7 separate regions of the Homo sapiens genome follow, and regions 1, 2, 3, 4, 6 and 7 are each linked to region 5. The links are contacts of gene promoters, found by promoter capture Hi-C in blood cells and fetal thymus (Javierre and others, 2016). All regions are on one chromosome and are shown on one strand. Each heading gives the region's core, a stretch centred on a gene start or on the middle of the fragment in contact. The rest is flanking DNA. Distances are from core to core; before and after follow the strand shown. Region 1 overlaps LOC124901607 (a long non-coding RNA gene). Region 2 overlaps LOC124901607 (a long non-coding RNA gene). Region 3 overlaps ZNRF2 (zinc and ring finger 2). Region 4 overlaps LOC105375220 (a long non-coding RNA gene). Region 5 holds the start of NOD1 (nucleotide binding oligomerization domain containing 1). Region 6 overlaps ZNRF2 (zinc and ring finger 2). Region 7 overlaps LOC105375220 (a long non-coding RNA gene).

The links. The method cuts DNA at HindIII sites, captures the fragments that hold promoters and counts their contacts. A CHiCAGO score of 5 or more calls a contact.
Region 1: a fragment that was not itself captured here is called in contact with the fragment with the promoter of NOD1 in region 5 in 6 of 17 cell types (total B cells, naive CD4 T cells, naive B cells and 3 more); the score reaches 8.4 in total B cells.
Region 2: a contact is called between a fragment that was not itself captured here and the fragment with the promoter of NOD1 in region 5, in 12 of 17 cell types (total CD4 T cells, naive CD4 T cells, activated CD4 T cells and 9 more). The highest score is 19.9, in total CD4 T cells.
Region 3: a contact is called between a fragment that was not itself captured here and the fragment with the promoter of NOD1 in region 5, in 10 of 17 cell types (total B cells, naive CD4 T cells, naive CD8 T cells and 7 more). The highest score is 15.3, in total B cells.
Region 4: a fragment that was not itself captured here is called in contact with the fragment with the promoter of NOD1 in region 5 in 1 of 17 cell types (non-activated CD4 T cells); the score reaches 6.2 in non-activated CD4 T cells.
Region 6: a contact is called between a fragment that was not itself captured here and the fragment with the promoter of NOD1 in region 5, in 9 of 17 cell types (naive CD4 T cells, activated CD4 T cells, total B cells and 6 more). The highest score is 13.5, in naive CD4 T cells.
Region 7: a fragment that was not itself captured here is called in contact with the fragment with the promoter of NOD1 in region 5 in 1 of 17 cell types (non-activated CD4 T cells); the score reaches 5.0 in non-activated CD4 T cells.

The regions. Positions count from the first base shown.
Region 1 is chr7:30,232,802-30,236,410 of GRCh38, reverse strand. All of the region lies in intron 2 of LOC124901607 (a long non-coding RNA gene), which reads right to left. Among named protein-coding and RNA genes, the nearest start is that of ZNRF2, 50 kb to the left of the region's middle. The HindIII fragment of the contact is 2,999 bases long and covers 1-2,906 here.
Region 2 is chr7:30,272,351-30,275,608 of GRCh38, reverse strand. All of the region lies in intron 2 of LOC124901607 (a long non-coding RNA gene), which reads right to left. All of the region lies in intron 1 of LOC105375218 (a long non-coding RNA gene), which reads left to right. Among named protein-coding and RNA genes, the nearest start is that of ZNRF2, 11 kb to the left of the region's middle. The HindIII fragment of the contact is 3,265 bases long and covers 109-3,258 here.
Region 3 is chr7:30,308,293-30,311,697 of GRCh38, reverse strand. The region is part of intron 1 of ZNRF2 (zinc and ring finger 2); the gene reads right to left. Among named protein-coding and RNA genes, the nearest start is that of MIR550B1, 20 kb to the right of the region's middle. The HindIII fragment of the contact is 2,465 bases long and covers 39-2,503 here.
Region 4 is chr7:30,717,963-30,721,207 of GRCh38, reverse strand. The region is part of intron 1 of LOC105375220 (a long non-coding RNA gene); the gene reads right to left. LOC105375219 (a long non-coding RNA gene) reads left to right here. Exons shown (of 4, transcript XR_927156.3): 2 at 340-541; 3 at 1,284-1,374; 4 at 3,092-3,245. Among named protein-coding and RNA genes, the nearest start is that of INMT, 33 kb to the left of the region's middle. The HindIII fragment of the contact is 2,793 bases long and covers 1-2,740 here.
Region 5 is chr7:30,477,244-30,480,662 of GRCh38, reverse strand. It overlaps NOD1 (nucleotide binding oligomerization domain containing 1), which reads left to right and starts at 1,879. Exons shown (of 14, transcript NM_006092.4): 1 at 1,879-2,057. RefSeq lists a silencer at 1,751-1,990 and an enhancer at 1,639-2,383. The HindIII fragment of the contact is 7,069 bases long and covers 1,434-3,419 here.
Region 6 is chr7:30,325,206-30,328,982 of GRCh38, reverse strand. The region is part of intron 2 of ZNRF2 (zinc and ring finger 2); the gene reads right to left. Among named protein-coding and RNA genes, the nearest start is that of MIR550B1, 37 kb to the right of the region's middle. The HindIII fragment of the contact is 1,675 bases long and covers 1,313-2,987 here.
Region 7 is chr7:30,699,877-30,703,547 of GRCh38, reverse strand. All of the region lies in intron 1 of LOC105375220 (a long non-coding RNA gene), which reads right to left. It also overlaps a transcript of CRHR2 not described here. Among named protein-coding and RNA genes, the nearest start is that of CRHR2, 19 kb to the right of the region's middle. The HindIII fragment of the contact is 1,440 bases long and covers 985-2,424 here.

The DNA.
Region 1 (3,609 bases), core at 158-2,657, 240 kb after region 5:
TGTTCTTTGTGAAGAACTTCTACATGTCAGGCACTGTGCTAGGTGCCGGAATCACAATGATATACTAAAGCAGATGTAGTATTAAATACATCTCCTTGTGCAGTTAACAGTATAGGATGATGTCATATGCTATAGGTATACTTTGGGTTCCTGTGTCTTTAAAAAAGTAAAATTCCAATGGAACAGAACAGAGCCCTCAGAAAAAATGCCACATATCTACAACCATCTGATCTTTGACAAACCTGACAAAAACAAGAAATGGGGAAATGATTCACTATTTAATAAATGGTGCTGGGAAAACTGGCTAGCCATATGTAGAAAGCTGAAACTGGATCCCTTCCTTACACTTTATACAAAAATTAATTCAAGATGGATTAAAGACTTAAACGTTAGACCTAAAACCATAAAAACCCTAGAAGAAAACCTAGGCAACACCATTCAGGACATAGGCATGGGCAAGGACTTCATGTCTAAAACACAAAAAACAATGGCAACAAAAGCCAAAATTGACAAATGGGATCTAATTAAACTAAGGAGCTTCTGCACAGCAAAAGAAACTACCATCTGAGTGAACAGGCAACCTACAAAATGGGAGAAAATTTTCGCAATCTACTCATCTGACAAAGGGTTAATATCCAGAATCTACAATGAACTCCAACAAATTAATAAGAAAAAAACAAACAATCCCATTAAAAAGTGGGTGAAGGATATGAACAGACACTTCTCAAAAGAAGACATTTATGCAGCCAAAAGACACATGAAAAAATGCTCATCATCACTGGCCATCAGAGAAATGCAAATCAAAACCACAATGAGATACCATCTCACACCAGTTAGACTGGCGATCATTAAAAAGTCAGGAAACAACAGGTGCTGGAGAGGATGTGGAGAAATAGGAACACTTTTACACTGTTGGTGGGACTATAAACTAGTTCAAACATTGTGGAAGTCAGTGTGGCGATTCCTCAGGGATCTAGAACTAGAAATACCATTTGACCCAGCCATCCCATTACTGGGTATATACCCAAAGGATTATAAATCATGCTGCTATAAAGATACATGCACACGTATGTTTATTGCGGCACTATTCACAATAGCAAAGACTTGGCACCAACCCAAATGTCCAACAATGATAGACTGGATTAAGAAAATGTGGCACATATACACCACGGAATACTATGCAGCCATAAAAAATGATGAGTTCATGTCCTTTGTAGGGACATGGATGAAGCTGGAAACCATCATTCTCAGCAAACTATCACAAGGACCAAAAACCAAACACTGCATGTTCTCACTCATAGGTGAGAATTGAACAATGAGAACACATGGACACAGGGAGGGGAACATCACACACTGGGGCCTCTTGTGAGGTGGGGGGAGGGGGGAGGGATAGCATTAGGAGATATACCTAATGTTAAATGACAAGTTACTGGGTGCAGCACACCAACATGGCACATATATACATATGTAACTAACCTGCACATTGTGCACATGTACCCTAAAACTTAAAGTATAATAACAAAAATAAAATAAAATAAAAAAGGAAAATAAATAAAAAGAAAAAATAAAAAAGTAAAATTTTATTAACATTTCTTATTTCAAAAGTGACATATTCAATAAGCAGAAGAAAATAATCACATATAATTCAGGGACAAATATTTTTAACATTTTGATATTTTTATACTTTAAAAAAATTAGGATTATGTGTTTGGGTACCTACTTTTTCAGTCAATATCATGTTGTAAAAATTTTGCCATAACAATATGTATATTCCCACAACAATATTTTTAGGGGATATCATGTATTCCATTGAATGGAGCTAATGTAATTTATCCAATCCCTTATTGCTGGACATGCAGGCAGATCTTAATTTTCACTCTTATAAACAGTTGCTATGATGAATCTTTATGTAGTTAAATGTTTTTTATATTTATGATTGCTTCCTTGGAATAAATTCTTCAAAGTGGAATTGCTACATTAAAATTTTTGTAAAATTCTAAGAGTTTTGGTACAAATCTAAATTAACTTTCAATAGTTAGACAAATTTAGTCTCCCTCCAGCAGGCCAGGAGTTTTCCTAAATGGTTCTTTTTTAATATAACTACATTGACAGGGCTCCCATAACTCGATGAATCACTTGTGCATTTGTATGAATCGTTTTTCAGACTGTTTCCCTTCCCAGAGGAAAGAGCAGAGCTCCCAGAGAGGCAGGAGCCTGGCAAAGGGCACAGAAAGATGGGCCAGGCCTGTGAACAGCAGTCCCAGCCAAAGGCCTTCTCCACAAGTAGACCTGCCTAACTCCTGCAGAGTGTTCCTCAAGCTGATGAAAATGCACATTACATTCATTCTAAGGGCAGAATTTTCTCTTCCCATGAGTGACAAAAAAAAAGATAAATAAATAAATTCAGAATTCTCAGATTGCAGCTCCAAGTCCTGCCAGCAACAATTAGTTGTAGAGAGGATAATGGTGTTTCCTCTTCTCGATCTTCACCTTCTCATACTTTTCTTCCTCTCTCATTCTTTGTCATCTATTATTTTCCAAAATAAAAATAGCTTTGTTGAATTTTCTATTTATATCCTTTCCAAGCAAGAAATAGGGATCTATATCACCATTTGAATGAATGTTCATTATCCTATTGTGGGGACGTTGTATGATTTATTTAACATGTATTAAATAATGTCTTGACAGCCATTTTGTTGTCTCCAATCTTCAATTTTTCACTAGTGTGCATCCCGACACCTCTGTCTTTGTATGCTTGTCCAATTTCCTCCTTAGGATAAATTCCTAGAAGAGGAATTGGGTCAAAGTAGATGCCTATCACCAAGCTGCCCTGCAAAGGGTTTCACCAATTTACTTCAAGAGGGAGGTTCCTAACATTGCAGGCAGGGCATGGGCACAGAAAAGCTTCTCCTCGATTTCTATTTCTTCCTTCCTTTCCTGTTAGCTGAGAGAGGCAAGTTGCTTTCTAGAGACCCCAACCACTCAATTAACTCTGTTAAAACTCTTCCTTCCTTTCTCAGATTAAAAAGAAGAAGAACTGTTTTGTGTCTTAGCCAGGAGCCCCACACCTTCTGTTACAAAGGAGTAAAATTGAAGGTGCCAGTCATTCAGTTGAAAACAAAAATTGCTGAAACTCGGTCCCACTGAGTCATCATCCATTAAAAACCTTGTAAGTTTTGTGTGTGTTTAATACATCTGGTATATTCACACAGAGGCCCACACACGTTTGATTATTTATACGGGGAAGGGTGTGTGTCTAGGGGATAAATGTATATATGTGTGTATAGATTACACATATGACCAAAAACTTAAAACAGAAAAATATAACCTCCCCTTTTCAAGGCATAGATTGATACTTTCTACAGAAGTAATCAATAAACCTATGTTTTTTTCATGTTTACAAATACAAATGAATAGTAAATATTTATTTTCCTGATTTTCACGGACATTGCTGATCTATACCTGGCATTTTTGGTAACATGCTTGTACCCTAAAGTGAGAATGGCAAGGGCTGCAGTCAGGGGCTGGGGGAGCCAGCAGGGCACTTTACAATTTCTCAGAAGGTGAATACTGGCCGCTGACTTTCATGTTAGGTCCAAACCTGAACTC
Region 2 (3,258 bases), core at 492-2,991, 200 kb after region 5:
CACTTAAAATTGGTTAAAATGGTAAATTTTGTGTTACGTCTATTTTACCTCAATTAAAAAAATAATGAAGGCTGGACAGCATCAGTAACAGTAGGAATGGAAGAAGCTTTTGCAGGACTGATCAAATGATTGGATGCAGATACGTTTTCACATCGTTCTCATAGGCAAAATGTACACATGAACAAATACTAAACTGTTTAGAATACTAATGCCAAAAAACTTCTACAACCTCCACATCGAAACAAACAGACCTGAACATTAGGAAATAATCAGATTTTACAAGGAATGTGTTTTTTATACACTTTGGACATTTTCTTTCATAATATGTAAATATCAAAACCTTCAAGCAAATCATACAGACAAGAAAATAACATGTGCTGCATTAAAAACATACAGACTTAGCAAAGAAAGGACAAAAACAAAAAACCTCCTAAGGCAGTTTTGACTCTCAGAAATATACGAGAGAGCTAAAAACACTGACAGAATTCAGTTGCTTCTGTGAAGCAAGCGAAAAAGGGGAAAATAAATAACTTTTAGGAAGGCACTCCAGACCTGACCTGTACAAACAGCAAATTCAAAGGTTTTGAAAATGATGAGTTTTTACTTTTTAGAGTTTGTAATCAATTGAAATAGTGATTCATTGACATTCTGGGGAGGCATTAGAAATGACCTAGAATTTCTCTGGTAAAACATAGCATTTCAGTACGTTTAGAGGTACACGTAGCTGGTTTCTCCAGTACAGTTTTTAACAGGTGGCATACTAATAATAAATCTTGCTCTGTTTCTTAACACCACTTCCCCCAACTGCTAATGATGGGGTGAAAAAGTGAAAAATACTGTCTAGACCAATATTAATAAGGAGAATGACGGCTACAATTAGGATTTCATTTTAATACAGCAGGATTTTTATACTGAATTAAATGTTCATATATGTTTATTTGATAATAACTCATGAATTTCAGTGGCAAAAAAAAGTTTCTTCTGGAGCTCACAAACAGGATGAACAATTAAAAATAAATAAATAAGTCCCACCATGCAGAAAATTTACTTAGCTTGACACATATGAACTTGAGAGGAACGAGAGTTTTGGAAAGTGAGGCCAGCTTCTCTAGGACTTTGGCAAACTCAGTCATCATGCAGAGGAAAGAAGGAAGCAAGTGCCTGTTACCTTCAGTGCTCAATACTAGAATGATAGCCATCTATGGCCAAATTTGAAATGGTGATGCCTTGAGAAACTAAATAATAAGAACTGTCTTTTTTTTAGATTTAATGTAATCTAGCTAATGGCTTGTGTATAATTTTCCAGACAACTTAATGGATATTTTTATGATTTAAAATAATTGTCTTCCATGTCAGTCAAGACATAAAGAATACAAATTTCCGCATTGGAAGAATGAATAGCCTCAGGAAGAAGTTTATATCTGTTGGAGCAGTAATTCCAGGCACTGGTCTACAGACCAGCACCAGTCTGTAATAAGGTGCTCACAGTGAAATAAGAAAAATTAGGACAGTGCAGTAGCTTTGTTATCCATAAAAAGTTAAATGTATTTCATGCACAAGACTATCTTTAGTCTAAGATTAGATCCTTCCTACCCTATGATAGTTGTAGATGGCCATAGATTTGGGGAGTATTTGGTTTTTTGTTTCTTCCTTTTTAAATGTAGATTTCGTTTTTTGGGACAAAGAAATATTGGCACCCTGATGTTGATTCCTAAACTGTTTTTGAATTTTTACTGACCTGTGAAATCTAAAATGTTGGAAACTGTTGCTCAAGAGATCAGCAGTTCTCACCTTTGTTTTCCCTGCCTGCCCCAACATACTGGAGAGATAGGATATACCCCCATCAGCTCGAGCCTCAGTAAGACTTGTTATCAGCAGAAACTTAGGCTCTTGAAGAGGGAGGGTGCATATCAGAATGGCTGGAAGTCATATATGTACTAGACAAAGGCCCCAGGTGGTTCTAAGAGGGCCCAAACCCCAGCTAAACTGACAATTCTCACTCAGTAATACTGATATATCCAGTGGGCCTAGAAATGACCCAGATACCTCATTTATTAATTTATCATCTTGCCCTCTCTACAGGACTGTTATCTTTACTTCCCAGAAAAATGAGTAGGATTTCTCCGGAAGGCAAGTCCCTCTGAAGTATCCACCAACCAATGCCATACAGGTTTTTTTCGTCTCTAACACCAGTCCTTCACACTGTAATTCAGACACACTTTTCTTTACTCTTTCAGGCCATGCCATGTAGCTATTCTTGGTCATCGTTTCCTCAAGGAAACATTGAAGGGATAAGGTCCAGGTCTTTCAAACTGCCCACTGTGACCCGTTAGTGTAGTGGAAAATGAATCCAGCTAAACATGACCAGTATTTTTTTTTTCTAAAAGAGCATAGTATTGAAAGACTAGAAAATATCAAAGTAGGCTGGATGCAATGGCTCATGCTTATAATTCCAGTGCTTTGGGAGGCTGAGGTGGGAGGATGGCTCAAGGCCAAAAGTTGGAGACCAACCTGGCCAACATAGTAAGGCGTCATCTATACAAAATAAATAAATAAAAATATCAAAGTGCATGGAATTTAGTGAAGCTAAACATTGTTTTATGAAACTTTATATATATTCTGAGCTGAGACATAGAATATTTCTCCTAATATAGGTTATAGTTTTTAAAAAAGTTGGCTGTGTACGGTGGCTCACACCTGTAATCCCAGCACTTTGGGAGGCCGAGGCAGGCAGATCACCTGAGGTCAGGAGTTCAAGACCAGCCTGGCCCACCTGGTGAAACCCCGCCTCTACTAACAATACAAAAATTAGCCAGGCATGGTGGTACACACCTGTAATCTCAGCTACTCGGGAGGCTGAGACAGGAGAGTTTCTTGAACCCAGGAGACGGGTTGCAGTGAGCTGAGATGGTGCCACTGCACTCCAGCCTGGGCGACAGAATGAGACTCCGTCTCAAAAAAAAAAGAAAAAAAAAGTTTGAAAACCATTAGATTCATTCAACAATCTCTATAATCTATTACACCTTAAAATTCTATGAATTTCACTTTGGTAATGAGCATAGAACTCTCCCTTCTCCCACCCTGCTCAACATAGCCCTCAACAAATCCAAGAACTCCTCTTTATCCTTGAGCCTGAGGTCCCATCTGGTATCTCCAGGCAATCTGACTTGGCCTCAGGCCTTCCTCTGGGCTCCCCTGGCCTTTGGGATGGTGCTTAACATACTACTTATAATACTATATTGTAATCGTCCATCTCCC
Region 3 (3,405 bases), core at 22-2,521, 170 kb after region 5:
CAGAACTGAAGGGCTGGTTCTACAAGGATTTTCAAGCTTAGCAGGTAGCATGCCAACTCCTAAGTATTTAAGCCAAGTTTCCTACAACTACCCTAGAACCCAGCGCAACTTTCTTAACACATCTGCAGTTAGTCTGACAAAAGTCATTAACTTTCTTTCCCATTGGGGCTCACCTATGGAAACCACTTTTCATTGGTATGTGTTAGTTACCTTCTTAAAGATACTGCTCTTCATGAAATTCACTCTGCATTATATACTTCCTTAGCTATATTGGGTTTGCTGGTAGTTCGTTTCTACATCCCCCAAATTCACATATGGAAGAATCAAATATAGCATTACAGACTTAAGCATTTATGACTCTTTAGGAATGAAAGGAATTAACATCCTACAGCCTATTTACTATCTATCTTAAAAGTTACTCGTAAAGAAATTACACTCGGGGTAAAATTCTGGGGTTGGTAAAGTGCAGGTTCTTGTGCCGGACCCCTATTGACTCCAAGGGGAATGGCACCAAGTTCAAGAGGCCAAAAACAAGACCCAGAGCCAGCAAACAAAACACGGGGTTTTACTGGAGGCTTACATACAGCGCAGAGAGTACCGCAGCAGTAGACTGGTCAGAAGAATCACCTTACACACAGTCAAGGGGTGGCAGGCTGGACAGAAGAACCACAACAGCTTGGAAAAGGCATGTAGTTTATAAAGCATTTTCAGTTAGCATCCTCCCACTAACAACCTCCACCTGTCAACCTTCTTTCAACCCCAAACTTGGGACCTCGATCCCCTGTACAGCTCATGTTCCACAGGACAGGACAAGACAGGACAGGACAGGACAGGACAGGACAGGGGCTCAGATGTTTCTCCTTAGACAAGGAACGAATCTCCTAATTAGCCACTCTCAGATTCCCTAGCTTGGAACTCACATTCAGTCCTGTATGCCACACAGGGTCATCCTCAAGGTATGCTTAAGAAAATGGCTATCAGGTGCGTTTACCCCACATAGGTCTGCAGGCCAACTGTGGCCTACTGTCAATTTTTGTACAGCCCTTGAGTCAAGAACTTTTTACATTTTTTAATGGCTGAATAAAAATTTTTTAAAAAAGAAAATGCTATGGCATGTGAAAATTATAGGAAATTCAAATTTCAGTGCCCACTAACCAATTTTTATTGAACGTGGCCACACACATTCATTTATGTATTGTCTCTATGGCTTACCCAAACTACAAAAAGAGGGAACAGAGACCAAAAGATCTGCAAAGCCTGAAATATTTACTATCTGGCCCTTTACTAGACATTTGCCAACCCCTGGATTAAGTCTTTAAGAACTGTTCAAAATATCCAAATATTTGTTTCAAAAGAGGAAAGAAAACCATTCTGAAAAAGTTTCGTTATGACAAAAACTCATCTGTAAGCTGCCAGTAAGTTGCATTAAAAAGTTTAGTCTAACCAAAGGGCTAAGGAATAATGAAGATGTTCCAGTCAGGCCAGTGTTACCACTGTTTTCCTGCTGCCACACCTGTTTATTCTCAAGCCATCACCCACCTGGTAGATTTTACCTCCTGAGTATCTGTCAGATTCAACCAATTCTTTAGACATCTACACCACCCTCACAACGTAGCTACTGTTATTTTTTCCTGGACTATGGCAGTAACCTCTCTATGCATCTGCTCTTGACCTCACCCTTCCCCAAACTGTTGTCACAGGCTATCTTCAAAACACCAACCAGACCTGATCACTCCCTGGTTTAAAATACACATAAACAAATACCAACTTTTTATTCATATACAAAGCCATGTATCTTGTTTTCTTCCAACTCCAGCCTCATTTATCTTCCATACCCTAAAACTTTTTACAAATTTTTAATAAATTACATAACATTTTAAAATATATTACATGCTACATATCTATACTTTCCTGATCAGCAAAATTTAGCATTTAACTGAATCACAACAATGCAAAACAAAAATTACCGGGTACCTTTCTGTACTGCTTAATAACAGGTTAGTTTCCTGTACTTTCCTTCTTATCCAACAATTACCAAACATAGTACACACATTCAAAAAATACTCACTGCTTAATTCACTATAAACACTGACTTCCAATGCTCTTAATTCTATTGGAAGTTTAGACGGACATGTGCTGATTCAGGATAGTGAACTCTGCACAATACCACAGCAAAAGGTTGACAGATGTGAAAGTTTGTATGTCTGGGTTTTCAAAGAGTTGCTTCTAAGAGTAAAGAGTCAGGGTGTCTTTTAGCTGTCTACTCCAGTCTTTAACTAGGACATCATCATTATACATGCTGAGTTTTATCAGAGAAGTGATAAATTTCTGAGCACTCTAAACACATTCTTATCCTAAATAATGGTTAAATAATCCCTTTAAGAAATCTAAATTTGACTCTGATTGTTGAAACAGAAAATATTCAGTATAACTATTTGACTAAATACATTAGAAGAGTTCAGAGAATGTTCAAAGTCCCACTCATGATATCCAAATAAAAGCTTATATACTCTGCTTTGCCATTATTTTAGAATTTTTACATGTTTTAATACGAAGCCTATTCTAACTTTTTAAAGTAAAAAGGCCCTCAGTAATAAAGACAATGTCATCATGTAAAGAAAATGGTACATATTCTATATATGAATTTATTTATACAGGAGTGAAGACATCATATTTAGGACCTGTCTTTAAAATAATTCAGAGAAAAGAGATAAATGAAGCCAATACTGCAAAATATAATGAACACTGAATGTGGATGCTGAAGATATGAAGTTTTTAGTTCATTGTACTGTTTGCCTCTACTTCTATGATTTCTAATAATATTTTTAGAAAGTCTGTAGTAAATCTAAGTCAATTTTTTCAGTAAATCTGAAAAGCCAAAATTCAATTCTAATTAAAAGTAACTCAGAAAATACTCAAATTCTAATTTAAAAAAATAAAATATTGACAATACTAATTGTTACAGAGGATGTAAAGAAATACAAACTCTCAAACAACAGTGTAACTAAAAAGCAACATAACCACAGTGGAAAACACTATTAAGCTGAAGGTATACATAACCTATGACTCAGCAATTCCACTTCTAGGTATATATCCCAGAGCAGTGGTTCTCAAATTTTAATGTCCTTAAGAGTCATTCATGTGGAGAGCTTGTTTCGGTTTCCTAGACCCCATCCCCAGAGATTCTGATTGAGGGTGGAGCCCACAGATTTGCATTTCTCCCAAGCTCACACAGATGACACCACCAATGGTGCTCGTTCAAGGACCATATTTTAAGTAATACTGTCCTAAAGAAATCTGTGCACATATGCACCAGAATACATATTAACAAAAAATTCACAGTAGCAATGTTCATAATGGCAAAATGGAAACAAACACCCAACAATGGAATGGTTGAAAAAATTC
Region 4 (3,245 bases), core at 95-2,594, 240 kb before region 5:
ATTCAGTCATAGATTCGTGCCTTGTAAAAGGGCTGGAGGAAACTAGCTTAAGCCCTTTGCTTCTCTGCCATGGGAGCACTCAGGGTATGTCTCCTCCAGAGGACACAGCAACAAGGCACCATCTTAGAAGCAGAGACTGGGCTTCTGGCAGAGACAGTGAACCAGCCTGTGCCTTGATCTTAGACTTCCAACCTCCAGAACTGTACGAAATAAATGTCTGTCCTTTACAAGTTATCCAGTCTCAGGTATTTTGTTACAGCAGTACACACAGACTAAGACTGAAATCTTAATTGCATGTGAACCTTAATTTCCCTTTGCCATGTGACCTAATGTTCACAGGTTCTGGGATTAGGATGTGGACCTCTTCAGGAACCATTCTTCTGCCTATCACAATGGATGCCCAGAGGCCTAAGAGATTGTTTTCGAGCAGAGGAGAGATGACAGAACCCAGACCAGCCCAGAGAAGAAGGACAAGCAGAAGGGATGGGCAAGGAAAGACAAACAACATGGCCTGATTCAGAGACACTGGCTGAGCGAGCAGGTATGCCCTGCCCGAGGAAGTGTGGGTGTGTTTGCTTGTGTGTGTCCCATCTGTCTGTATATCTCTGTATGTGTGCACACACGCATACATGCCCGTGTGTGTGCATGCATGCATAATCCTTCCTTACCCTTCCAACTGTCTCATATCAGACTTCTCCAAGGAGGTAAAATGTGAGCAGGACTTTAAAGGCAGGGCAGGGCAGTGAGCTGGGCTCTATCATCCTGTCCCCAGTAAGCAGGCCTCAACTTTGGCTGGAGGCCATCCCTACTCCCTCCCAGGTCTCACCTCTGCCTAGGTGAGCAGCTCCATAGCCACACAGGCTCTGGGCAGGGCTGAGCTATCCAGGCAGGGATGGAGGTAGAGGGTGGAAATGAAATTTCTTACCACACCAGGCCTGGTTCCTACAGCACTGAGCTCACACAAAAGGAAGGGCAAGCTCATGGTGTCCCACACTAAGGGCAGACCTCCCACCTGGTCTCCAGAAGGAGGCTGAGGCACGTATGCAGCCAGGGTTCTCCTGAGACCCCACATCCAGGTAGCAGGAACAGCACGCAGGCAGGGCTCCCCTGCCGCGAATAAGCAGTCCCCATAGCCAGGAAACATCAGAGTGGACTGAAAACTACAAGACGAAGCCCTCCTGAAGACAGAGAGGCTGAGGCCCAGAGAGGTCACAGGGCTAGGTAGGATAGAGCTGGGGTGGAATCTGAAGTTCCTCTTCAGTTTCTTCTTCCCTCCTTTACAGGATAAGAAAATAACAACAGGGAACAGATGAGGACCCCTGGTCCAGCATGGTCTGAGTACATAGGAAACCTCAATGAATGCTAAATAGTTGGGTGAGTTGATGCATGAATAGATACAGAGAGGGAGGGAGGGAGGGAGAAATGGAGGAAAGGAAGAGTAAATGGATGGATGGATGGATGGATGGATGGATGGATGGATGAATGGATGGATGGATGAATGATGGATGGATGGATGGATGGATGGATGGATGGATGGATGAATGGATGCATGAATGATGGATGGATGGATGATGGATGAACGGATGGATGGATGGATGGATGGATGATGGATGGATGGTGTAGGGAAGAGAAAGAGAGATCAGACTGTTACCGTGTCTATGAAGAAAGGGAAGACATAAGAAGCTCCATTTTGACCTGTACCTTGAACAATTGCTTTGCCCTGAGATGCTGTTAATCTGTAACTTTGCCCCAACCTCTTTGCCCCAACCTTGAGCTCACAAAAACATATGTTGCGTGGAATCAAGGTTTAAGGGATCTACAGCTGTGCAGGATGTGACTTGTTAACAAAATGTTTACAAAGAGTATGCTTCATAAAAGTCATCGCCATTCTCAAGTCTTGATAAATCAGGGGCACAGTGCACTGCAGAAAGCCACAGGGAACTCTGCCCTGGAAAGCCGGGTATTGTCCAAGGTTTCTCCCCATGTGATAGTCTGAAATATGGCCTCGTGGGATGAGAAAGACCTGACCGTCCCCCAGCCCGACACCTGTAAAGGGTCTGTGCTGAGGTGGATTAGTAAAAGAGGAAAGCCTCTTGCAGTTGAGATAGAGGAAGGCCACTGTCTCCTGCCTGCCCCTGGGAACTGAATGTCTTGGTATAAAACCCCATTATACATTTGTTCAATTCTGAGATAGGAGAAAAACCACCCTATGGAGGGAGGTGAGACATGTTGGCAGCAATGCTGCTTTGTTATTCTTTACTCCACTGAGATGTTTGGGTGGAGAGAAACATAAATCTGGCCTACGTGCACATCCAGGCATAGTACCTCCCCTTGAACTTAATTATGACACAGATTCTTTTGCTCACATGTTTTCTTGCTGACCTTCTCCCTATTATCGCCCTGCTTTCCTACTGCATTCCTCTTGCTGAGATAGTGAAAATAATAATCAATAAAAACTGAGGGAACTCAGAGACTCGTGCAGGTCCTTGGTATGCTGAGTGCCAGTCTCCTGGACCCGCTGTTGTTTCTCTATACTTTGTCTCTGTGTCTCATTTCTTTTCTCAGTCTCTCATCCCACCTGACGAGATATACCCACAGGTGTGGAGGGGCAGGCCACCCCTTCATCTGCCGCCCAACATGGGTGCCTTTCTCTAGGGTGAAGGTACGCTAAGAACGTGAGCATTGAGGACAGCCAAGGAGAGATTCCCGAGTATGTCTATGGTCAGCCTTGTGGTAAGCTTGTGTGCTTGGAGGTACCCAGGGTAACAATGGGGCAAACTGAAAGTAAATATGCCTCTTATCTCAGCTTCATTAAAATTCTCTCAGGAAGAGGGGGAGTTAAAACTTCTACAGAAAATCTAATTATGCTATTTCAAACAATAGAACAATTCTGCCCATGGTTTCCAGAACAGGGAACTTCAGATCTAAAAGATTGGGAAAAAATTGGCAAAGAGGTTGGGGCAAAGTTACAGATTAACAGCATCTCAGGGCAAAGCAATTGTTCAGGGTACAAGTCAAAATGGAGTTTCTTATGTCTTCCCTTTCTACATAGACACAGTAACAATCTGATCTCTCTTTCTTTTCCCTACAGATGGATGAATAGATGGGCACTCATCTACAGGATTCTGATACAGTCATGGCATGCACCACATTGTCTCATCTTGGGACTAAACATCCCAGTATGACAGCTAGGAAGGATTCAATTAATCCCTATTCATTAATTCAAGGCAGCATAAGAGATGATC
Region 5 (3,419 bases), core at 630-3,129:
CGTTTTCTGGCTATTTGGAACCATTGTTGAGTCTGTATTGGGGTCAAACGGTATTGCAGAAGAAAATAAGGCGTTTAGGTTTTAGGTCAGGTGTGAGTTGAAGAGGTTTTAAGTTCTTGAGAACACAGGCTAAGGGAGAAGAAGGGGGAATGGAGGGTGGAAGGTTGCCCATAGTGAAGGAGGCAAGCCCAGAGAAAAGAAGGTAGAGACCCGGAGAAGGGGGGTGGTGAGCAGCCCTGGGCTGCAATGTGGCTGAGCAGCCAAAGCAGGCGACCCACAATTGACTTGCCACCAAGGGAATGTGGGTGAATGACCAAGGCAGGCATCCCCACGGTGATCAGACACCAATGAAATGTACGTGAATAATCAGGCAGGTGTCCCTGCAGTGATTAAACACCAAGGGACGACTGTTTTCCTGAGTCCGTGACCGGAGCTGGAGTTTTGGGTCCATGGATAAAATATGTCTCCTTTGTCTCTACTAGAGAGGAGAAAGAACTGGAATTGGAAATAGAGGGAGATTTAAGGGTAGTGAGAGAGGCTGGAGAAGACAGTGAAAAGACCGCTTACCCGATTTGAAATTGGTGAGATGTTCCTTGGGCTGTTTGGTCTGAGGACCCGAGGTCATAGGTGGATCTCCTCACAGAGTGAGGGTGAGGACAGGGGACTGGTCTCCTGAAGGAGTCCTCCTGTCCCGGGTCTTCGGCACCAAATGTCACACGTGTCCGTGTGAAGAGACCACCAAAAGGCTTTGCGTGAGCAATAAAGCTGTTTATTTCACCTGGGTGCAGGTGGGCCGAGTACGAAAAAAAGAGTCAGCAAAGGGAGTTAGGGGTGTGGTAGCTTTATAGGATTTGTGTGGGTAGTGGAAAATTACAGTCAAAGGGGGTTGTTCTCTGGTGGGCAAGGCGGGGGCCGGGGGGGTGGAAGGTCTACAAAGTGCTCAGTGGGGGAGCTTCTGAGCCAGGAGAAGGAATTTCACAAGGTAATGTCATCAGTTAAGGCAGGAACCAGCCATTTTCACTACCTTTGTGATTCCTCAGTTGCTTCAGGCCATCTGGATGTATACATGCAGGCTTGGGCTCAGAGGCCTGACACAAGTTGGCACATTTGATCCTATCAACTTTAGTTTGCACTTTCACTTTTGATTTAAGAACATACTTTCTGTTTCTCAGAGGGCAGCCTCTGATGGGAATTTTAATACTCACAAGCATCAGTGGCTATATGATTGAATGTACTTCTTCAGTGTGAGTAAGTGACAACTTTCTGTAGCATGATATCCCTTATGGACACGATCCCCATTCAAAACGTTTTAAAACTATTTTATTGGGGACATTTATTAGCATGTTAAAACTCTTTTACAACCTATTAGAGCATATGCATAGAACATAAAATGTACACTGCCAAGAACAAATTTAAGGATAGGAAGAAAAGCTTACATTTTTTAAAAAGTATAAATTGAAATGTATGCAGTGTAATTTAAATTTGATTACGTTAACCTCCATTTCATCAGGACCACGTGTCGCGTTTTAACAAGAGTTTCCCTATCATGTCCAGGCTTTGGCTCTGGTTGCAGGCGCTGGGTAGGCACTTTTACGAGGAGGGACCTGGCACGATGGCACCACAAATTCCCAAGTGTGTCACCTCTGGGCGAACTTGGGCCTGTCCACTCGGCCCTGCGCGGTGGCCAGGGGCTCACCCTCTCGCACCGGGCGTCCCTCTGCGCGCAGCTTCTCTCGCCCCCCCGCGCCAGACCCGGGCGAATGGCAGCACCGTGGGACCCTGCCTTGACCGCCCCCGCCCTTCGGCGGCCTCTCCCAGCAGCCGGCAGGCTCTTGGGCGCGCCAACAGAGGGGCGCGGCTGCGGCTGTAGTCGCAGCCAGTTCCCGTTCCGGGCCCGCGAGGCAGCCGCCCCGGTCCTGCCCCTCCCTCGCGCTACTGCGGGAGCAGCGTCCTCCCGGGCCACGGCGCTTCCCGGCCCCGGCGTCCCCGGACCATGGCGCTCTCCGGGCTCTTCTCTAGCTCTCAGCGGCTGCGAAGTCTGTAAACCTGGTGGCCAAGTAAGTCCCAGCGACTGGGGATTCGCGCGGGGCAGGCCCTTTCTGAGGTCCTGGGCGCTGCGAGTGAGGAGGCGCAGGGAGGCGGGATTTGCGTGCGGGCGGAACGCAGCGCGGCTCTGGAGGAGCTCTGGGTGGAACCAAGCGGAGAAACCCGCGAGTTTGAAGCATGTAGCGAAAGTTGAGAGGGATGAACTTCACAGTCAGCGGAATCGTTTATCCCACTGTGGTCGAACGCAGGGGTTCTCAATCGTGCCAGCAGCTTAGAACCACCTGGGGAGCTTTTAAAATCCAGATATCCAGGCTGCACCCTAGATCAATTCCATCAGAATCTCACGGAGTCAGACCCAGGCCTCCGTATCTTTTAAAAGCTCCCCAAGTGATTCCAGTGTGCAGCCAGCGTTCGAGGGTTTGTGGCAAAGGCTGGAAGGGCAGACAGGGGCCTTCATGGAGTCCCGCCTGCAGACGGGACAGCAGCTCCCAGTGTCCTGCTTGGTCCTGGAGAGAGGGTGAGAACTTCCCTTGGGTTTCATGCTCCACAAAGTAAGGAAATGAGACAATGCTTGGCAAGGTCGCCTGAATATCACATTCAAAAACGCCTCCAATGTGTGCAGTTGTTTTGGCACATTGTGAAAAACATAGGAAATGACAGAGGTTGATGTCTCATTAGCTCTGCATTCTAGGAAACATTTCGGTTGTTGGTGTTTGAAATTAAGTCTGGGGAAGCTAAGCTAGTAAACCCATGGCCTTGATGACTTCTGGCCTTTCTGCTTTAAGGGTGAAGCCAGGGCCGGGCGCGGTGGCTCACGCCTGTAATCCCAGCACTTTGGGAGGCCAAGGCAGGCGGATCACCTGAGGTCGAGAGTTCGAGACCAGCCTGGCCCAACATGGTGAAACCGTCTCTACTAAAAAAAAAAAAAAAAAAAATTAACCGGGCGTGGTGGCGCATGCCTGTAATCCCAGCTACTCGGGAGGCTGAAGCAGGAGAATTGCTTGAACCCGGGAGGCAGAGGTTGCAGTGAGCCGAGATCGCCCTGTTGCGCTCCAGCCTGGGCAACAAGAGCAAAACTCCGTCAAAAACAAACAAACAAACAAAAAACAAAAAAACGGTGAAGCCAGAAGTCGTGCTTGCCAAAGGGTCGAGTTTGTTCTCCCTCAAAGCCCCTGTTGAAGATTGAACTATCACTTTCAGGGAAGAGTAAAAGAGTAACTCCACGATGCATCTTAGAGAGGAGTGGATTCCCTGTTCTCACCCAGGCTTAGATGCCAGGGGCCAGGTAGCTGAAATCCAGGCAAACCAGGCATTGACAAAGTACAGACTTCTACCGAATATGCCAGACAGATAAGCAAGCTGTGTTTAAAACA
Region 6 (3,777 bases), core at 901-3,400, 150 kb after region 5:
GAAAGAGGGAAAAGTATATGAAACAGGCAGTCCTTCACATGAAGGTAATCTATGTTGTTGAATACTCACTGTGGCATTCTTAATTTTTTCAAGCTGCCAAAATACCATCTGCAATAGATAATACCACCCACATCATTCAAAATCCTTCCCTGCCCTGACAGCCTTGGGCGTCCCATTGGGATCTCTGCCGAGCCAGCTGCCCAATCCCTGAGAGTTTCTACCTAGTCAGCCAATTTCTTCTTCAGGTACCAGGATGTGGGTGTTCAGATATATTGTGCATTTAAAAAAATAAGAAGGTTTTGGTGAGCTAGTCTGAAAAACCAATATTTCAAATATCATCTCTGTGACAAAGAGTCTGAAACTCTAAATCATCAACTTATATTTGAATTTCTGGAACTCATCCAATTCAGGAGCTTATCTATATAAATATATCCAGTCTGAAGAAAACAAGCCCCACTATTCTTGTGTTATAACTATGAATGTTTATAGACAGTTAACATTCACTTAACAAATAAATTTCAAAATTTCAGATCTAGCTACTTTGGAAAAGGCTGCAAAAGTGTAAGTTAAATGAACAGTATGCTGAAAAAAATGTTCTTGTTTGAGCACTAACACAATTCAGAGGCCCAATGTATCTGATGTATCTCTCTATGGAATCAACATGTAGGAATTCAAATATAAAATTGTGAGGAATCCAGTTGACTAAAAAGATTCAGTTTTAGAGATTCTCTGGCTTTACCTTGTTCTACTTTATAATAATCCTAGATGGTTTGCTTATGAGGTATTAAAGGAGCCAATTTCCATTTGGACTCATCACCTGTGACAGACATTTTGGGGGGGGTCTGACTTTAAAACCAGGTGGCATTAGAATTCCCCTTGCCTATGATAGGAAAGTACATTATTAACCTGCCACCTCTCTGTAACCCTCCAAATCAGTCCAGGCAAAGCTCCTTTCTCCTTCACTTACTCATAACTGGCCACTGTCCAAGAGCTAGTTTTAAAACCTCAAAAACTATACACGGTTTTTATTAAGAAGCTGTATTTGCTTCTTGCTGTGAATGTTTATACAATTAATACATACTTTGAATTTTTTATCTCTACAAAATAAAAAATAAAAGCCAGGCATGGTGGCATGCACCTGTAGTCCTAGCTACTTAGGAGGCTGAGGTAGGAGGATCACTTGTGCCCAGGAGTTTGAGGCTGTCGTGTGCCATGACTGTGCCTATAGATAGCCACTGAGCTCCAGCCCGGGCAACACAGCAAGATCCTGACTCTAAAAACAAAAATATATATATTTTTATTTTTTAAAGCTTTCAGTCAGCAACTTTAAGAATGCCTACAAGTTTATTTACTTATTGCATGAAATTTATTAATTTCTAGATTGAAATACTGTTAAATATTTAAAATTCGAAATATTTGGTTGTTATAGTATCCCCAAGCAGAAGGTTATATATTAGTTCTTAAGACACCAAACAAGTGATCTAGCAGAACAGTTTAATGACTTAGGCATAGTTAAATCAGGAAATTAAGAACTGTCAAATATCCAAACCTGACCAAAAACAAGCAATGGGGAAAGGATTCCCTATTCAATAAATGGTGCTGGGATAACTAGCTAGCCATATGCAGAAGATTGAAACTGGACCCCTACCCCACGCCAACCTCCTTAAACCACATACAAAAATTAAGTCCAGATGAATTAAAGACTTAAATGTAAAATCCAAAACTATAAAAACCCTGGAAGACAACTTATGCAATACCATTATAGACATAAGAACAGGCAAAGATTTCATGACAAAGGCACCAAAAGCAATTGCAACAAAACCAAAAATTGACAAATGGGATCTAATTAAACTAAAGAGCTTCTGCACAGCAAAGGAAACTATCAACAAAGTGAACAGACAACCTACAGAATGGGAGAAAATTTTTGCAAACGAAGCATCTGACAAAGGTTTAATATCCAGCATATATAAGGAACTTAAACAAATTTACAAGAAAAAAGCAAACAACCCCATGAAAAAATGTGCAAAGGAGATGAACACTTTTCAAAAGAAGACATAAATGTGGCCAAGAATCATATGAAAAAAAGCTCAACATCACTGATCATTAGAGAAATGCAAATCAAAACCACAAGGAGATACCATTTCAAGCGTCAGAATGCGTATTATTAAAAAGTCAAAAAAAAATACATGTTGGAGAGGCTGCAGAGAAAAAGGAACACTTAACACACTGTTGGTGGGAGTGTAAATTAGTTCAACCATTGTGGAAGACAGTATGGCAATTCCTCAAAGACCTAAAAACAGAAATACCATTTGACCCATCAATCCCACTACTGGGTATACACCTAAAGGAATATAAATCCTTGTGTTATAAGACACATGCATGCATATGTTCACTGCAGCACTGTTCACAAGAGCAAAGACATGGAATCAACCTAAATGCCCATCAAATGATAGACTGGATAAAGAAAATGTGGGTCCATATATACCGTGTGAATACTACACAGCCATAAAAAAGAAGATCATGTCCTCTGTGGAAACATGGATGGAGCTGGAGGCCATTATCCTCAGCAAACTCACACAGGAACAGAAAAGCAAATTCCGCACGTTCTCACTTGTAAGTGGGAGCTAAATGATGAGAGCACATGGACACAAAGAGGGGAACAATACACATTGGAGCCTACCAGAGGGTGGAGAGTAGGAGGAAGGAGAGGATCAGAAAAAATAACTAATGAGTACTAGGCTTAATACCTGAGTAACAAAATATCTGTAGAACAAACCCCCATGACACAAGTTTACCTATATAACAAACCTGCACATGTACCCCTCAACTTAAAAGTTAAAAAAATTGTTAAATATCACAATACACAAGAAGACTGTATTCTAGATATATTACACAAAAAGTAAACATACAGAATACTAAGACTGTGTGTAAATATATTATTATATGGTCAAATATATTTGTGATTTTCAAATTGAAAGCCAGAAGCTTTAAGATTTATGGATATTTAAAGGCACTCATATTAAACATAAACAATTATAGAATATAAGATAGTGGAGCAGGTATGAAAAACAAACCCATATACTTTTAGTCACAAATTTTGAATGAGAACACTTTCTATTTCTTAAATAACTAAACTTGAAGTAGATAATGCAAAGTAGCCAATTCAATTTCATAATGCAAAAAGGTTAGGATATAATCAACAAATACATTTATTATGCCAAGTAACTGCTTAAAACCACTTTCACATTTCATCAGCAAATGAATGGCAAAAAGTGCTCTATTGTCAACCCTGTAATAGGGTGGCTGAAGCACCACCATACTAGAAAAAGTGAAGGAAAGGGAAGAATTGAGAGACTGATTCTTAGATCAACTTGCAAAACACTACCAAAAGTAATATGCTCATTTCAATGTTAAATTCTACCCCTCCCAACATTTTTGTTACCTGAGGAGAAAGCTCAGATAAGTGCTGCTATATCTACTAAGTTTTTCATAGAACCTTTTTATTTAACCAATAATTCTTAGCTCAAAGAAATCAGTGACTATTACTATTAGTAGGCTGTAAGCTCCATTTCTGTTCATTCACTGCTATATCTCTAATTCCTAACACAGTACCTCGCACATAATTGATGCTCAAAATATATGTTGAATTTAGCCAATCTTTCAATTGGCTATAGTGTTTACTGGTACCCTTTCTACACATTTTATTTCAGGCCAAAATTTATATTTAAAAAAAATGAAATTTCTCTTAAGCTTTTGAAGTCTGTTTCTTTATAAAAT
Region 7 (3,671 bases), core at 455-2,954, 220 kb before region 5:
CTTTTCTGAAGATGAGGCATAACATTCATTGACAATTCACCACCATAGGGAAGCTCCTGGTTCATCCATGCTTGGACCTGGCCTGTGCCAGTCCGTGTCTCCTCTTCTTTTTCCTCCTCCTTTCTAGAGCCCAGCTCCTAGCCCTTCTACACTGTCTCCATCTTGGAATGCCATGCTCAATCTAGTCATTTCAATAGCTTTGCTTTACAAAGCTAGTTAGGTCTCTTTCCACACACTTCTCTTTTAGATCATGCTGAGTTTGTCTTTCATCACCAAAAAGGCCCATGAAGGCATTTTCAAAAACATAAAGCCTCCTTTCCACACTGAATCTACCCTTAGTAACACAAAGCTTATAAACGAGCAGGTTGTTATTAACCTGCTCAGATCACGTTGCTAGGCAAGGTTTATTCTACCACCAGCAGCCTCAGAAAGTGAAAGGCTGTCTAGAGGAAACCCTGCAGGCTCAAGTTTTTTGTTTTTTTATTGTCGTTGTTTGTTGTTAACACCTTCCATTTAGAGGGATCAAGTCCAGACAGACTTCTTTGACCATTTAGGCTCCCTTAGATGGGGTTCCCCAAAGGTGAGGATTCCTGTGCAGGGATGTGTAAAGAAAATGTTCCCAGGAGCGACTGGTAAGAGACGAGGCAAGGCAGGACGGAGAATGGAAAAGATCCCAGGCAGAGTCCCGGCCTCTGCCTGGTTCCACAAGGAGTTCTAGAATGTCCATTACACTTCAGAGTTCCTTCCACCTCCAGGCAAAGGAACACCAATCACTCAATGCTAAGGATGCCCTTAGGGGGTTGGGAGGATATAAATTCCTGGGTACTTTGTGCAAAAAGTGGTTCTCATTGCCCCAGGAGAGTTCTAAGAAAGTTCTAGGTTGTGAAAAGGGACCTATTTAGAAGCACAAGGAAAGCCAGGGGAATGGCACTGACATGGATTGAATCTGTGTGCCCCCACCCCCCAGATTCCCAAGTTGAAGCTTTAACCCTTGATGTGATGCTATTTGGGAGGTAATTAGGGTTTAGGGTTAGGTGAGGTCATGAGGGCAGAATCCCCATGATGGAATTAGTGCCTTTAGAAGAAGAGGAAGAGACAAGAGTCCAACATCTCTGCCATGTGAGGAAACAGCAAGAAGGTGCCACCTACAGACCCAAGAGAGGGCCCTCATCAGAACCTGACCATGCTGGCACCCTGATCTTGGATATCACCGCCTCCAGAATAGAGAGAAATCAATGTCTGTTGTTAAGGCCACCCAGGGTATGGTACTCTGCTACAGCAGCCCAAGCTAAGACAGGCACCCAGAACACCCCCCCAAGAGAGGAACCTGGGCTAAGCACCACAGTGCCTACTGCTACCCGGACCCTCCTAAAGCTGCAGAGAATCTGGCTTCCCTCCAGCTTGCCCCACCCAGCCAGGCTCCCAGCTGCATGAGACCTTGCTCCCTGCTTCTGCTCAGGAGACTTCCCCATTTGCAGTAAGGGTCTCCCATTCCTCCATCTGCTTAAACCCTTCAAGGTGCTCCTGCAGTACCTTCCCAGGAAGTGCCCTCTCACTCCCCTGAGCTGGCCCAGCACCTGTGCCATGTCCCACCTCCCATCAGTTATGGATGCCAGGTCTCATGGGTTCCCCATGCCTCTCCTTCCCATGTCCCTGCACACTCTGAGGCTGGCCTCTGCTCTTGGTGCCTGCTATTAGGCTGGCCCCTGGAGACCTACAGCTGAAGGCTGCTGAAGGGAACTGTCCCAGCCATCTTTCAGAGTCTGCCCAGCTCTCAAAGTCCTTCCCAGCTTATGATGTTTTGTAGGAGGTATCCACCTTCTACAAGGAGCCCTCTCTGACCAAGCCCATCTGGCTGGGTCCGGGAAAGCCAAATCCTGCCCCAGGACTTGGGATAGGGTTTTCACCCTGCCACCTTCAAATAAATGAGGAATCCGATCAATTCTTCCTCCATTTTTCCTATAAAGATTTCCCTGTACCACTGAGACTAAGCTCTGTACAAAATAGGAGGGAAGGGAGAAGAAAAAACAAGGAGAGGAAGGTTGGGGCACATCCACATTCATCCTTATCCTCCCAGAGCTTGGAGAACAGTCCACACCAGCGAGGCAGAGCTTCAGACTCAGACCTGTGAGATTTCACAGGAGAGGGAGGTGGGACCTGGAACAGCCAGGAAGGCTGCCTGGAGGAAGGGGCTGAGGGTGGGGAGGAAGCACTCAAGGACAGAAAAGTGTCCCATGTCTTAGATAGGGAGACCGGAAGGAGCACAGAGTGTCTGAGTTACTTAAATCGGGACTGAGTTTTCCAAGGTCTCTCTCCACCATGCCTGCATCTCCAGGAGAAAGTTTGGTGCCCCACTAATCACATTCCTCACATGCTTTCCCCTCAGATCCTAACAACAAGCAAGGTGCAACTGTGGCTTAAGCTTTTAAACCCCCTGCACCAGGCCCACCTGTCAGGAACAGCTCCTAAGGAGGCTTCTGAGGCTCTGGAAGAACAGACCTCACCTCATGAGCCCTGACCCAGCCCCAGGTTGAACCTGTCCCCGCCAAGAACAGCACTGCTCAGCCACCTGATATCAGGATCCCTAACCATTTCCTGAAATGGAACCTGGGCCCCATACAGACAGACACCTGGGCCCCATCCCAAGCTACTTCATTGGAATCTCTGGGTGAGCCCTGCCATGGCTGTATTTGCTGTCGGTTGGGTTTTTTTTTTTTTTTTTTGAAAGCATTTTATTTTGATAGAATTTCAAACGTACAGAAAAGTTGGAAGAATGATCCAAAGCATATCCATATACCCCTTTTCCAGATTTACCAACAATTTACATTTTGCCCCATCTGCTCTCTTGTTCTATCTATGTATCTATCTGAGTTTATTTCTGAACCATTTGAAAGTATGTTGGAAACATGGTGCCCCTTTAATCCTAAATGTGTATTTTCCAAGAATGAGAACATTCTCTTACCTACCCACAGTACAGTATCAGAATCAGCAGATGTAGCATTGATACAGTACTATCTAACCCAGCATCCACACTCCCATCTCAGTCATCCCAGTAGGCATTAGCACCTGTTAAAAGCTCCTCAGATAGGTGTTAGGCAGTGCTGGTTCAGCTGAGACCCAGGGCAGCCCAACCCTGTGCTGAAGCAGGGACCACAGCCTAGGCCCCTCCTGCCTGTCTCAATTCCTCTCTCCCACCTGGGGAGCTACAGCCCCGGGCAATGCTGGCAGCCGATAGAAGGCATTAACCCCTTCTCTGCAGGCTGGATGGAGAGCATAGCCCCTTGGCTGGCTGGGTAGCAGCAGCTGTCTGGGACCAGCTATAAATAACCTGGAGGCTGTGGGCTGTGGGGCGGGGTCACCACTGCCCTGTGGAAGAAGTGGGTGGAGAATACCTCCTCATGCCCAAGGCCTTACCTTGGCCTCCCCTCCAGGGCCGGGTGGGGTGGGGCTGGCCAGGGTGTGACCACCGTGCTGGGCAGCAGGCTCCAGTCCCTAACCCCCAGCCACTACTGGCATGAGGGGTCCCTCAGGGCCCCCAGGCCTCCTCTACGTCCCACACCTCCTCCTCTGCCTGCTCTGCCTCCTCCCACCGCCGCTCCAATACGTAAGTGCAGGGAGTGGGAGTCCACGAGGTGGGGCGCCAGGAGCACGGAGCTCCCAGCTCTCATGAC